2 separate regions of the Homo sapiens genome follow, and region 2 is linked to region 1. Evidence: promoter capture Hi-C in 16 types of primary human blood cells and fetal thymus (Javierre and others, 2016). All regions are on one chromosome and are shown on one strand. The core of a region is centred on a gene start or on the middle of the fragment in contact, and the rest is flanking DNA. Distances in the headings are between cores, read along the strand shown.

Region 1 (7,647 bases), core at 3,638-6,137:
ACCTTACTGCATGGTCTTCCAAGTTGAAACTCTTTTTGGCTTGCTTCCAGAATGTACCTCTCACCTGGTTCTCCTGCTGCTTCTAAGAGATCTCTTGGTCTTTTCAGTGCCCACTGCTGGTCCCTACATGAATGCCCTCCTCACCCTCCTTGGGGTCTGACATCCATGTCAAATCACTCTCCTACACACTCTCCTCCCCCTCCTCAGGCTCTGTTACTCATGCCAGGCTTTCTTCTCATGTAAACAGTCTCTTCACTCTGTTTGGGCTCCAACATACCACACTAGGCTGCCCCCATTCATGGATGCCCTCCTCACCTCACTTGGACTCTAGATAACCCAGGCTAGGTTAACCTTTTGTGTGTCTACCCTTCTCACCCCACTTGGGCTCTGACTGTCTATGCCCGGCTATTACTCCTTACTCTTTAGAGCTCTAACATCCCATGGCTGACAGCCTCTCCTTATTAACACCTATCTTGCTCTGCCCCTCCTAATGGCCTCAAGACTGAAATGTTTAGAAAGAGGAAAGGAAAGAGAAAAAAGTAGAAGAGAGGAGGGAATTTTAAAATATTTTATTGGATTTTAAAATATGTAGCATTTTGATCTACCTGGAACTTATTTTCGTGAATGTTGGTGTAGGAATCTTGGTTATATATACATTATATACTTTTTTTTTTTGAGACAGAGTCTTGCTTCGTCATCCAGGCTGGAGTGCAGTGGCGTGATCTCAGCTCACTGCAACCTCTGCTTCCTGGGTTTAAGGTTCAAGTGATTCTTCTGTCTCAGCCTCCCGAGTAGCTGGGATTGTGGATGTGCACCACAACAGCCAGCTAATTTTTACAGTAGCGATGAGGTCTCACCATGTTGGCCAGGCTGGTCTCAAACTCCTGACCTGAAGTGATCTGCCACCTCAGCTTCCCAAAATGCTGGGATTACAGGCATAAGTCACTGCGCCCGGCTTATATATACATTTTTAATGGATAATCAATAGACCTCAAAGCATGTATTGCATAGTTTATTCTTTACACCCACTAGAAATATGTCGATCACAAACTAATTTTTAATATACACTGGGTCTGTTTCTTTGTTCTCTTCATTACTTATATATTTATGTCTTGATGTTTTTATTTGTTGTTTTGTTAGAGGAGAAATGACATATTTATCAGATCATATCAAGAGACAGAATTTTTCATCTTCTTTATACATGTCAGCAAAGTCTAATTTTCTTCATATAGGTTGTGTTCATTTCATGTATTAATTTTTAGGGATTACATGTTTTATTATCATTAATGGTTTTTATTTTTCTACTGTATGTTCTAATTGATGCTTGCTAAGGAATAGGAATTCTTTTGATTTTCGTTTGTTGATCTTTTATTGCATTATCTTTTTGATTCTTGTTTTAATTCTAATAATTTGTCACTGATGCTTTTGATTTATCTACAAATGTTTTGGGCTTTTTCTTCCATTCCAATGTTTACATTGTATTATTTTTCTTGTCTTATTACATTAGCAATTAACCTCTATTGTAACTTGAATAGTAATGACAGCATTGGGCATCCTTATCTTGCTCCTGACTTTATTGGGAATTTTTCTAAAATTTCACAATTAAGTACAATGTTTAAGTATATTTCTGGTAGATATCCTTTATAGAGTTATAAAATTTTCTTTTCTTGATAGTTTGCTAAGAGTTTTTATAATGAATGAAAATGAAGTATATAAAATTTTTGGTGTATCTATTGAGATAATCATATGTATTTTCTCCTTTAATTTGTTAATGTAGCAGATTCCATTAATGAGAGTTAAAAATTAAATTTTAAAAGTAACATGTGAGTACATTTACCTTATAAAATGAGAGAATTACAGGGAGTGGGGAGATTGGGTAGATGTTGGTCAAAGGACACAAAATTTCAGTTAGACAGGAGGAATAAGTTCAAATGATCTAATGTACATCATGGTGACTACAGTTAATGACAATATATTGTATATTTGAAAATTGCTAAGAGTGGATTTTAAGTGTTCTCACCACACAAAAAAAGATGAGTATGTGAGGGAATGCATATGTAAAATAATTTGATATAGCCATTCCACAATGTATATCTATACCAAAACATCATATTGTACACCATATAGTTTTACCTGTCAATTAAAAATAAGGTGATAAAAATGTAAATACAAAAAAAGTGTATTTATAAAAAATTAGAATTACAAATAATATGTGTTGTCTTTGACTAATACCCCTAATTCTAGTGTGCACCCCCTAATACCAGTAACCATTACTGTAAGTTTTAATAACCATATTTAACAGAACATATATACTGTTGTTTTTGTATGTGTATTTTGAAATAGTACCAAATGCAAATTTCTTTTTCATTCATAATGTATTTTGGTAACTATTTTTATTGGAACATCTAGCTGCTTTGACTCCTTTACAAATCCTCTACAACTTTCCAATATATGCATTACATTCCATTTATTGTTAATAATTTTATTTATTCCTTCTCCAACTGGAGTACACTTAGGTTATTTGCAGATGTTTTTTCGTTCATATGTGTGTGGGTGTTTTTCTGTGGTACGTAACTTATATTCCTAGGTTTTTAGAAAGTTTAAAAACATTTTTTAAAAATTATGGGTGGTATTGAATATAAGTGTACACTTATAATCTTCTTAGTTTTCTATGTAATTTAAAAATACTCTTAAGATCACAAGTGTTCAATGTGACTGCATGCTCTATTTAGCCCTAAGGTGAATATACGATTTTTCTTTTTTAACCTGTCATGGTGAATTTTAGTAATTTTCTAATCTTGAAGTATCTTTGCATTCATATAACACTAATTAATCATATCAATTACCTAAAAAAAATGCTGCTGGATTTAATTTGCTGGTATTTTATAAAAGAATTTCCCATCTATGTTCCTAAGTATAATTGAACCATAGTTTTTCTTTCTTATACTCGCCCAGTTCAGAATTTGTGAAACGGTTTTATAACTTTTATAAAATGCATTGGATATCTTTCCATCTTTTCTAAGCTCTGAAATAATGAATTCAACATAGAAAGTATATGTTCCTTCAGGTTCAATAGAATTTTTCCCTTGAGTTGTTTTTCAAATTAATATTTAATTACATAATCTAAGTTCTCCATATCTTCCCTTATATTTTACATTTGAGTTGCATATTTCTGAGATATTTATGTCTTCTACTCTGAAAACAAATTGTCAAATTTGTAAAATTTCTCATCGTTCATAGCGTCACCTTAGGATAGGCCATGTTTTTAGATTCATAACAGTTCAGGAGACCATACTGTCTTCATGGACTTTATCTTTAATATAAAATCCTTTCTCTTTTGATACTTTTAATTGTATTAATATTGCTATACTGCTTTCATTTGGCTACCATTTGATTAAATATTTTAGCCCAGTATTTTCAAGCTTCCTGTTTTGTAAGCATTTGCTTATGGTCAATTTATAGCTGGATTGTCCTTTTATTCCCAACTGTCTTTTAAAACTTGTGAGTGAAATTAACCCATTTACATTTATTGTAAATACTGATGTTTGGACTTTTCACATGAAAAACATTTTTACCATATGTTCTGGTTTCTTTTGCTTATCTCGTTCCCATTTCTGCCTTCTTTCAGCTGGATAGGTTTTTTCTTCTCATTTAGCAGCCCCCTTCCTTTAAATGGTCTACAGATTATAAATCCAATTTAATTCTTGTTACTAACTTTAAAAACTTAAAATCACATTCAGAATATGTATATTGAAAATCAACATCCAGAGTTGATTTGCATCTATAATCCCTTATATGTTTCCAAACATTCTCTGATTATACGTTTCCACGCTTGTAAAATGGGAGGCATGAGTTCTTCTTAAGGATTAAATGTGATGTAATGTCAAACACTAGCCTTTATGAACATATCTTCAATTTCTTCATTCCATTTCTTTTTCATTCAATCAAAATACTTCAGGTCCAGAGCACACAATCACCTCTAAACTCCTTTGTCCTTCAAAGTCACCTTCTCTTTCATCTCTTCCATCATTCATTATGGCCTTCAACTACTTTAAATTTCTTTGTAAGTATCTGAATACCTTCTCAATCCCACTTTGGAGAAAAAAAAATCTCATTATACATTGTATTTAAAGGTCTCTTTTGCTCTAAATTTAATGAACGTCATTATCCAGTAACTCCACGCCTTTCTTCATTTATCCTTCAAAATGGCGGACTTTAGACGTTCCACGATCAGTACCACGTGCGCCTGCGCCTCCCGCAGCCATTTCGCCCAGCAGCCTAAGCTCGGCGAGGCGCCTGCGCACGAGCCTCCAGAGCACTATCGCTCCTCCCTCTAGCTGAGTACGCCTGAAACCGCACGTTCTCTTCCCTGCCCTCCCCCGCTAACCCTGCACCGCCCTCACCCTTTCCTGTGAGATTCTTCCGCCAAGTGGAAGGCTCATCTTCGGTCGACAGCCTACGCGGTTGAAGAACAATCCAGTAGGCACTTATAGCTCAGGGTCTCGCCATTCAGTCTTATCTATGCGCCACAGCAATTTTCCTCCGGGCCCCAAAGTTGATAACCGATTTCGCGGGACTTTTTTTTTGCATACTGTGAGGCAACAAATGGAAAGAATAGGCCTATGGCGGAGGGATCACTCGCTTATTCTCTGTGTACTTTAACCTAATGGGGGTCGCCCGGGAGTCGGAAGGGGGAGGGGAAAGGGAGGAGGCAGCCAAGGAATTGTTTTTTTCTCTGGCCCCGCCCTCGCCCGGGGGGCCAATGGTGATGATCTGTTTCCCCCGGAGCCTCGCCCAGCTCCTGTGTTTCAGCCAATGAGCGGCGGAAGCGGCTCCGAGGGGGGCGGGTCCGGGAGGCTGTGCGTGTCTTGTGAGAGCTCTTGAACCAAGTCAGCGCTGGAGTCGGCTAGGCGGCTGGAAACGGCGGCTGCCGCCGGTGACTCAGGGAGGCGGGAGGCGGGGTAAGAGCGCCGCGGCCTCGGCTGCGGGGAGAGGGGAGAGAAAGGTGAAAGCGCCGAGCGCGCGGCCCCGTCGCCCGTTGGCAGCGGCGCAGGCCCGGGAGACGGGCGCCCGGGGTTCGGGGCCGGGGAGCTGGGCGCCGGGGCGGGGCGGCGGGGCAAGTGCGGAATCGCGGGCTCGCCCACCCTCCCCCGTGGGGCCGCCCGGGGCGGGGACCCAGCCGCCCGGGACCGGCTCTCTGCACCAGGGGCCTTTTCTTTTCGGGGCTGGGGGCTGAGCACTTTCAAATCCACTCGAGCCGCAGATAATTTTTCCCTCACTCCCTCTGCGGTTGCGTTTGAGCTGTTAGAAAAGCCAAACTTGGGAGAGCGAGGGTCACGCGGCGCTGGGGCCCGGGTGTGTGGCGGGGGAGGGCGGCGGGGGGCGGGAGGGCGCAGGAGGGGGGCTCGGTGCGGGTCCGCCCGGGGCCGCGTCCTCGCGCGGGTTCGGCGCCCTCCGCCCGCCCTCCCTGCTGTCTCCGCCCGGCCCCCTCCCACCGGCCGCCCCCGTCGCATTTTGTTTTTGTGTTTTTGCAGGGAGGAGCTCTTCCTGCAGGCGTGGAAACCATGGTGCTCACGCTCGGAGAAAGTTGGCCGGTATTGGTGGGGAGGAGGTTTCTCAGTCTGTCCGCAGCCGACGGCAGCGATGGCAGCCACGACAGCTGGGACGTGGAGCGCGTCGCCGAGTGGCCCTGGCTCTCCGGGACCATTCGAGCTGTTTCCCACACCGACGTTACCAAGAAGGATCTGAAGGTACAGGCGGCTCCGGGCCTCTGCCACCGGACGTTTCGCAGTTACCGTGGTAACGCGACCATCGGTTCCCTCCTTCCGTTTTCTGAAAACGGAGACCAGAAAGTTGGCATATGATCTGAAGGTGCAGGAAGCTAGATCTTGAAAGTCTTTGGAATGGTTGTATAGAGCCGAGTTGTGTTTGGCCCACAGCTCCTGGCTGCCTGGCTTTAATAATGGGCTTAGGGTTGTTCAGACACGCTTCATTAATGCCGGTGCTGTGTCCCACCAGGACTGTCTCATCTTTACTGCAGAGGAGGAGGAGTATTTTTGTTAGCGTTAGGTAGGGCCTGTAAGTGACGTTTGGAGTCATTAAGAATTGAAGGTTAGTGCTTGGAAGTACTTTCAGCTGGTTTTGTTTGTTTGTTCCTGTTAATTTATTCACTCAACTTTTAAAAAAACTTTCAGACTTGTTAAAAATGAAGTGAGTGTAGAGGGAGGAGCTTAAGTTCTGTTTGGCGTATTAGGATGGGTGTTTGTCCGTATATGGTGGGTCAGGGCAGGAGTGGGTTCCTGGTTGTCTGTGATGAGCCGGTGGGTGGGTGTGGGATATGACCATATATGGAGGGATGGGGTGGAGCTGTCCCATATATGGCATATTGGAGGACTGGCTTAGAAATACTGCACTTGGACGCATGAGGGGAGGGAGAGAATTGGGAACAAGTGCGGCCAGTGATTTTTTTTTAAATCATTATGACACTCAGAACCTTTTTCTGTTAGATCTTTTCAAAGACAGATGAATTCTGATTGTGCTCCCTAATAGAAGTATTGATGTGAAAGGATTGTCTGGGAACAAGCAGTGAGGAAGCCATTGTACCAACAAAGACTCCTTTGTGCGAAAATAACTGAAAAAAGGTTCCTAACAAAGACTCCAAAGTGGTGATAACTTGAAGGAAGCTTGTCAGAACAGAAGATATTTCCACCCTGCCTAGTAGATGTGTTTCAGAATCTTCACTTGGCCATCATCTTTGCTTTTTCTTAAACTATGTTCAAATAAAGGCAGCAAGTTTTAGCATTGGCAGTTGATTATATGTTGATTTCTGAAACACTGTTCATTTGAACACTTTCAGGGTGACAGTGTATGCCCAAACTGGTATTTATCTGCAAAGAGTTGTAGGAAAGGGGTATGCTGTTAGGCATGTTTTAAAGCTTCAGTGTTGTGCCTTGTCTCTTGTTGAAAAGGAGGAGTGACCGAAGAGCATTTAACCATGTGGCAAGCACTTCACAACTATGATCTCGTTTAATCCTTACAGCAGTTCTTGGGGGTAGGTACTAATATTGCCCCCATTTTATGGATGAAACTACTGTGCCTGAGGGACGTTAAGCATCTTGCCAAGGACACATACGTAGGAATTGACATAGCCTGTATTCTGTCAAACCCAGGAAGTTTTACTCCAGAAGCTGCCCTCTTAACCATCAGGCCAGTGATCAAGAGCTATGCCACAGCAGAGCTCCTGTCATAGGCTGTGAGGTTTGGTTTTTTCCTGCATTCGGCTCATTCTCCTGCCAAATCAGGTTTTGATGTTTATAGAGATAATATATTGTGGTGCAAGAATGGCCAACCTTTTTGCTTTGGGCTTATAACCTTTCTGTAAGCTGGGCTTTGTGTACTAGATTTCAGTCGTGCTTGTTGTGGTTTATTTCGCCTGCCAAATAAAATTTTCTCTAGTGCATTTGTTTTTATGTGATTTGAATGGAAACAAGATTTTATTTAAACTTTCCAGTCTTTAGTTCTTTGGCAGATGTTGAGAGACTAGGCGTTCCCTTCCCTTCTGTAGCAGCAATTGAGGACCTGTTGGGTTAGGCAGGCAATCTAGGAGGAACTTCACATGTATATATTTTTTAAATCTCCTCCCTCCGC
Region 2 (7,647 bases), core at 1,915-4,414, 310 kb after region 1:
AATGTTGAAGGGGAACAATAATAGTTAAAAAAAATTTTAAACCTCATTATCTAAACAGATCTTTTGCCACTGGGTGGAGTATCTACATTGGTGAGGCAAAATGCTGACTGTATTAAGGAGTGAATGGAGTAATGGTATAAAAAAATGACATATAGAATATTTTAAGATAGTTCTGGGTGAGCAGTCCAGAACTGCCTTTTATGTTGGTATGTGATAAACAAGGTCTGTGTGTTGGGTAGAGAGGGACAAAAGGACTTAATATCCATTAAACTGTGCTAGCTAATCCAGTCTGCAATTGCATTTAAGTGCTTTTAAATTAATGAATATTAATATCTCTGCATGCTTTCGTGTATTTGTTTTTGTTTATATTTTCTAATAAGGATTCTTTTAAATACAGAAGCAGAAGGTTTGGTGGCAACCTGGCCCTCAGATTCAGCTTTGGTTAGGTTTGGCCTGGCTCTCAGATTCAGCTACTGTGTATTAAAGGTTTACTGATGGATGGATACTCATAGAGGTTTTCATGTACATTATTTACCTTTATCTTCACCAAAGACTTGTAAGGTCGAGATTATTGTCTCTAGATACAGATGTGAAAACTTAGATTTGTAAGTAACCTGCCTGAAGTCACAGAGTTGGGATTAAAACCCAGATTTTAAGACTTGGAGGAACCTTTCTCAACTGGAGTTCCTTGAGAGAATTCATCTCTAGTGCCCTGAGGGCACCCACTCTACATATGAATTTCTCTCCTTTCCATAGAATGGTAAGAGATACATATCATCCTTGGAAGAATTAATAAAATAGCCACAGAAAGGCAGATAACTAATAGTGGAGGGATAGGGATGCAAATGTGACAGAAAGGCCTGGCAGAGTGGTTTGGCACGTTACTCCCTCATTTTTTAAATAAAGCAATAACATAACAGTGTGAATCTACCTTTCTCTTAATGTTGATAACCAAAGAAGAGGTATAAATACCGTAAGGAGAATATGGAATGTCTACATCAAAAAATGCATCTACAAAATGCTGATTATGACACACTACCAAGTTTATTTTCCAGCCCTTGGTTTGTAAAGCACTGCTATCTGGTATATGCCTAAATATGGATTATTTCATCATAGGACAGGTGCCTCATTATCAGCTTTACTAGGTATTGTAAAATTTTCCCCTGAAGGGTTTATACCAATTTACAGCCCTACCAAACACCTATAACACTTCCTGCTTCCTCATTTCTCACCTATACCTGGTATTATCAGACTTCAAATGTTTAAAGATTAATCAGATGGGTGTGAAGTAGTATCTAGTTGTACTAATTTTGCCTTTCTTTGACCATCTTGAAGGTGGGGCATCTTCTCATGTTTAACATTAGGAATTTCCCATTTGTGCATTTCATGTTCTGTCCATTTTTTCTGTTAAGTTATCTTTCTTATTGAGAGGTGTGTGTTTGTTTCAAACTCTTCTGAATACTAATCTTGTGTGGTTTGTATGCGAAGTAGCTATCGTCTGTTAGTCTGAGGAGAACCAGAATCCAGGTCTTCTTACTCTGTTAAGTATCCTTTGCTGTCTGCCTCTCACTGCTAAACCAGATTAACTGGATGCTTAAAAGGGAAATTAATTCCTGGTAGGTGCAACAATAGCACATTTTGTTGGTTCATACACTAATTTTTCTTCAAAGTAGATGGAGAAGTTTCAAAATACATGTTAATACTATTAGGGAATTGGTACTTAGGAATTAAATACTGAGTTTTATATATATTGTGACCACTGTCTGCTCAGTCATTATAATTTTATAAAATATATTTGAGAAACGGATGGGTTTTTGACGGTAAACAGTGAAAGCCATTTCCGACTGATTTGTGTATTCATGATACGGCATGATACGGCCTGTTTAGATCGCACACTTTCATAATGATGTTGTATCAAAGTTATTTACTCCTCTTCTGCCTCAGCTTCTAGATTTAGTATGTCCTGGATTTCTCCTTCCAAGTCAGAACATCCTCTCCGGATGGACACACCCTTGGATGTGTGCTTTTTTGCTTTTGGTTCTTGTTTGGATCCTTTCTTCCCAATTAAGAACAGGATGCCAAAGCTTTTCTTTGCTTAAAAAATATGAAAAGAAAAAGTATAGTAAGACAGAAGATGTTAATTATAGATGGTATTTCTCTTCATTAGCCACCTCTTGGCTGGTTTGCAGTGCTGTGGATTTTCTGGACAGCCATGCAAATGAGCTTGGTTACCTAGCAACAGAAGCTGGAACTAATGCTAGCTCTGATGCAACAGTGAGTAAGAACCTGCAGTTATAACAAAAGGAGTTTGACAGTGTATTGCATTTCCTCAACCTCTATATATTTTATAATCTTAGCTTTAATTTTTAATGCATGTGACCAGAAAATAAGCTATGGAAGTTTACTTATCTACCTCAGTAGTTTATACTGGAAAATCAGAATGGTAGAAGGGAGCTCAGAAGTGTCCAGAAAACAATCGAATGCATTGCTTATTCATGCTTCTTTTCCAAGAGCAGCAAATAAGTTACGAGCTTGAATGTAGTTAGATTTTGAGTGTAAGGGTGTTTGACTTTTCTTACCTATGTAGTAGTGACCATAGTAAGCCTTAAGAAAATAGAGATACACATAGGGCATTGTTGTAAAACTTTGTAGCAAACCCAAAGAAAATTGTTTAAATATTAGACTCTTTTTGTAATTTTCTAGTTGATGAATATTTACTTTTAATATGTATATTAAGGAAAGAATTGAAGGGATTATTTTGTTTGATCTGAGCAAGTACTGTCAGATGGTAGCTTATTAAAATTCTGACCTAATATATATATTACCGGATAAAATTGTTTCAACATGATCTGTGCTTTGAGCTGACCAGCGTGTCTTCCAGCGTTGTTTTATTTTTCCCTAAGGAATAGGTACTAATAAATTTGTTGTTTGGGGAAAAATCATTAAATGAATAAGTAGAAACCTGAAGGTTGTATTTGGATTTAATGCAGTTGATAAGTTAGTGAGAGAACTTTCTTAATTCATCTCTCTATTCTTTCCTTATACTGTGCATTTAGACATTTAGAGAGTTATGGGCAGGTTCCTGAGTTTGTAATAAACTCATCTTCAGATCTTTAGAAACCCATTCCTTTATGCATTTGAATGGCCCTTTGGGAAGTGGAATTTGGGAGAGAACAGCGTTGATCAGCCTCTGAGCTCTACTCCAGAAGAGACAGAAAGCAGTACCATCTCCGGTGTTGTAGTTGTCATAGACAGCATAAAGATAAAATAATTTACTTAAAAATACTGATGAACTGTTATAAAATTAGCTCTCAACAGGCAGAATCTGATAAATAGAAATTAAACATAATCTTATACAAGCAGTTGTGGTTCTTCAGTGCTAGTTAACAGTTTTTTCATTATATGCATGGATGCTCTTGCTTTAGCATCTAGGTACTTTGTATTATTTCTTTTTCTTTCTTTTTTTTTTTGAGATGGAGTCTTGCTCTGTCTCTCAGGCTGGAGTGCAATGGCGTGATCTCGGCTCACTGCAACCTCTGCCTCCCTGGGTTCAAGCGATTCTCCTTCCTCAGCCTCCCAAGTAGATGGGATCACAGGCACCCACCACCACGCCCAGCTAATTTTGTATTTTTAGTAGAGACGAGGTTTCACCATGTTGGCCAGGTTGGTCTTGAACTCCTGACTTCAGGTGATCCTCCCACCTCGGCCTCCCAAAGTGCTGGGATTACAGGAGTGAGCCATCATGCCCACCCCGTTATTTCTATTCTTTAGGTTAAATACTTGGCTAAGAAAAATGTCTGTGAAAAGGAAATGAATAAAAATTAAGACTGACAATATTCTTGGTTTTTTGTGTTTGTTTTGTCTTGAGTGATTCCAAACCTTAATGTATGTATTCAGTTTTAGGCTACTGTTTTCACATCTAGAGATAGGGTAGATAGCTGTTTATAGGGAGAAAAATGTGCTTAATTTTGGAGAAAAGCACTCCTGCATTGTGATTGTAAATAGTGGGTTGTTTGCAGTTGCTGTTGCTGGTTACTTACTACCTGTTCTTGTACATCATGTAAAATAATCCCATATTGGTTGGACTGTATATTTAAGCAGTGGTTGACTAGGATTGCAATTTTAGTTAAATCTAAATGGCCTTGTCTAGTTAAGTTTATATATTTTTAAAAAGAAATGCAAAACATTTATTAGGGAGCAATGCCTATGAAAGATAAAGGGTGCTGAAGTGGAATTAGGCTGGGAAAGCTTTCACACTGTGATGTACGTTTGCTCTTCTTTCACTCTTGATGTTTCATGTTCCTTCTGGTGTCATTTTCTTCTGTCTGAAGACTTTAGCAATACTTTTAGAGCAAGTCTGATGGCAGTAAATTCAGTTTCCCTCCGTCTGAGAATGTCTTTATTTCATCTTCATTCCTGAAGGATATTTTCACTGGATATAGAATTCTAGGATGACAGTTATTTTCTTTCAGTACTTGACAAATGTCATGCCACTTCTTTCTGGCCTCCATAGTTTCTGTTGAGAAATCTGTAGTCATTTGAATCATGGTTCCCCTGTAAGTAACATGTCACTTTTCTCTGGCTGCCTGCAAGATTTTTTGCTTTATCTTTAGTTTTAACAGTTTGAATGTGAGATGTTTGGGTCAGATTTCTTTGAATTTGTCCATGTTGGAGTTCACTGACCTTCTAGAATCTGAGATTTATGTCTTTTGCTAAACTTGGGAAATACTCTTCAACTATTTTTTTCTGTACCATACTGTTTCTCTTCTCCTAGTATTCCGATGACACACACGTTAGAGCTTTTGTAATTTTCCCACAGGTCCCTGAGGCTCTGTTTTTTTTTTTTTTTTAAACTGGTGTTCAGATTGGATGAATTCTATTGATTTTCACTGACTTTTTGCACTGCCACTTTGCTTCTGCTGTTGAAAAATTCATCCAATGAATTTTTTATTTTGGTTACTCTATCAGCTTTTTCCTTGCTAAGTCTCTCCCTTTGTTTCAAGATTGTTTGTATTTTTATAATAACTGCCCTAAAGTTTTGGATGGTTCCAGCATCTCTGTCATGTTGGCATTGGTGTCTGTTGATCATCTTTTTCCATGTGAGTTGAGATTTTCTTGGTTCTTTGTATGCCAAGTAATTTTGCAGTATCTTGAACATTTTGAATATGTATTATAGTACTCTGGGTCTTGTTTAAGTTCTGTGGAGAGTGTTGGTATTTTTGTTTTAGCAGGCAATCAACCTTGTTGGATTCAGGCCACAAGTTCTAACCAGTCTTTTCTGGGTTGTAGTTTCAGTGTTAGTTTTGTTTCTAAAGCCATTACAGTTATTTAGATTTGTCCTGTGTGTGTAACACCTGGTAGCCAATATGGGACCTAGGAATTAGGTCTATTCCCTAGTTCAGTTTTCAAAATCTGTAGTATGCTGTTTAGAGTCAGGACCATGCATGTATAGCTCAAAGGCAAACCCAGAGGTGTAGATAAACCACTCTCTTAACTAGTTGGCCATGCCCCCACAACCACTTTCAGCCTCAATACTGCAGTTGTTGGGATGTGCCATGGATTATTATGTTGATAGGCATATGTGTTTTCTCCTTTTTTCCCCTCCCATTATAGACAGTGCTGCAGTGGGCATGCTTTTACAGGTCATCATTGCATTCCTCTAAAAATATTGCTGCATATAATGCCTAGAAATCAGTTCATTCGCTTGATTTTATTTTATTCATGGACACCATTATTAAATCTACTTTAAAAAAACATTATCTAAAAATATACCTATTTACTCTTCTAGCATGACAAGTTTTAGAAAGGAGCAGTGGAAAAATTCCTTCCTTTGGGACGCTATAAATTGCAGTTGGGTTCTTATTGGGGTATCTCAGACTGAAACAAAGACCATTTTTTTCCTGTTAAGTGGGGTGAAAATAATCTATTTATGATTCCCTTTCTCTTTCTTTTCCCCAGAATTTTGATTCTGACATTAGCAGTGTGGGAATAGATGGCTGCTGGCAGGCAGACAGCCAAAGGCTTCTCAATGAGGTGATGGTGGAGCACTTCTTTCGACAAGGAATGCTGGATGTGGCTGAGGAGCTCTGTCAGGTAACAGTGTGCCAACTGGGAGGATATGAAAAAGAAACAAGGGAACTCCTTGGAGTTTATAGTATTTGCAGGGTGGGGTTTTGAGTCTTCCTCTAGCTATAGATAGATTTTTAATATTTAAATTATCAGAGATGACCTCATTTTACTAGGAGTATTTTGGGGAATTTTTTAAGTGGCAAAAATTATAGTTCTAGAACTTGTTATCCAGATCATTTTTTTCTTGTTCCTGTCCCAGAAGGTTAGTCCCAGTTCATGAATCAAAGGGCGCAAAAGCGATATTCTTTCTTCATGTCCATTTTTGATATAGAAGGTTAGTATAGCAGACAAGAGGAAAGGGACAAAAACATTGATGTTTGTTCTTCTGTTCTAGCCCAGCTTAAACGATTTTATCAAATGAATTTCCAGCTAAAATTTTTTACTTCGCATTAGCAGCATTTGTCTTTTATTTCTATCACACATGAGTTAGAACTCTACAACAGTTTACCAATACCATGTAGTCATAATAGTAGTAGCTGCCATATATTGAGTGCTTACCTTAAGCCAAGCCCTGCCTTTATTCCTTGCTGCAATCCCATGAAGTAAAAATTATTGTTTCCATTCTACAGATGAAAAATCTAAGGTCTGGAGAAGTAAGTTGCCCGAGGCCTTAACAGGTTCTTTGTGAAAGAACTGGGATTCAGTCCCTGATTCATATGTCTTCACACTCCGTTCTAAGCCACCATGTGCTGTTGCATTTTTGTTTGGAAACATGAAGGACCGAAAGAATTAGTTTAAAATCAGTCTGTAAACCAAACCTCTAATCTAAGCCTTTTCTATTTTAAACAATTCAGATAAATGATAACTCGGTTTTTCTCTGTACCTTACAGGGATTTTGTGTATGTGTCCATGTAATTTCCTGCAGTAAACTGTCATTGAGGATTGTTTGCTTTTAAGTAACAAAAGACCCACAATTACAGTGGCTTAAGCAAAAGTGAAATTTTTTTCTTGCACAGAAATCGGTAGTAAGACGTCCACAGCATGTTTGGTAGCTCTGCATTGTGAAACTCTTAGGGACTTAGCACCTTGTACCTCTGTTATTCCCAGGGTGTCTCCTGTCTTCAGAGTCCAGGATAGCAGCCAAAGCTCCAGCCATACCTTTGTATCCCAGAAAGGGGCAGAGTGCATATTTATGTTTCATTGGTCAGAACTTAACGTCTTACAAAGCCATACCCAGCTTTATTCCATTTGCTTATGTACCCTGCTGAAATTTGGGGATTCTACTATGGAAAAGAGGGGAAGAATGTACTAGGGGGCAGTCATCAGTCTCTACTATAGGGAATTATCTTTAATGGCTTGCCCCATATTTTACAATCTAGAATATACTTTTACCACTAGCTCCTTACCCTGATTACTGCTAACAAAAGTTCTTTCTTTCTTTCTTTTTCCAGGAATCTGGTCTTTCTGTAGACCCAAGTCAGAAGGAACCATTTGTGGAGTTAAATAGAATATTAGAGGCATTAAAGGTCAGAGTTCTGAGACCTGCTCTGGAGTGAGTATTGAGTTTGCTTTCTTTTG

The links. The method cuts DNA at HindIII sites, captures the fragments that hold promoters and counts their contacts. A CHiCAGO score of 5 or more calls a contact.
Region 2: a contact is called between a fragment that was not itself captured here and the fragment with the promoter of KDM3A in region 1, in 7 of 17 cell types (endothelial precursors, erythroblasts, M1 macrophages and 4 more). The highest score is 9.9, in endothelial precursors.

The regions. Positions count from the first base shown.
Region 1 is chr2:86,436,484-86,444,130 of GRCh38, forward strand. It overlaps KDM3A (lysine demethylase 3A), which reads left to right and starts at 4,888. Exons shown (of 26, transcript NM_018433.6): 1 at 4,888-4,961; 2 at 5,535-5,750. The coding sequence starts at 5,565. RefSeq lists enhancers at 3,957-4,500, 4,322-4,521, 4,602-4,681, 5,672-5,731 and silencers at 4,812-5,201, 5,422-5,471. The HindIII fragment of the contact is 3,261 bases long and covers 3,421-6,681 here.
Region 2 is chr2:86,745,938-86,753,584 of GRCh38, forward strand. It overlaps RMND5A (required for meiotic nuclear division 5 homolog A), which reads left to right. Exons shown (of 9, transcript NM_022780.4): 3 at 5,959-6,093; 4 at 7,521-7,621. Among named protein-coding and RNA genes, the nearest start is that of RNF103-CHMP3, 29 kb to the left of the region's middle. The HindIII fragment of the contact is 2,164 bases long and covers 2,083-4,246 here.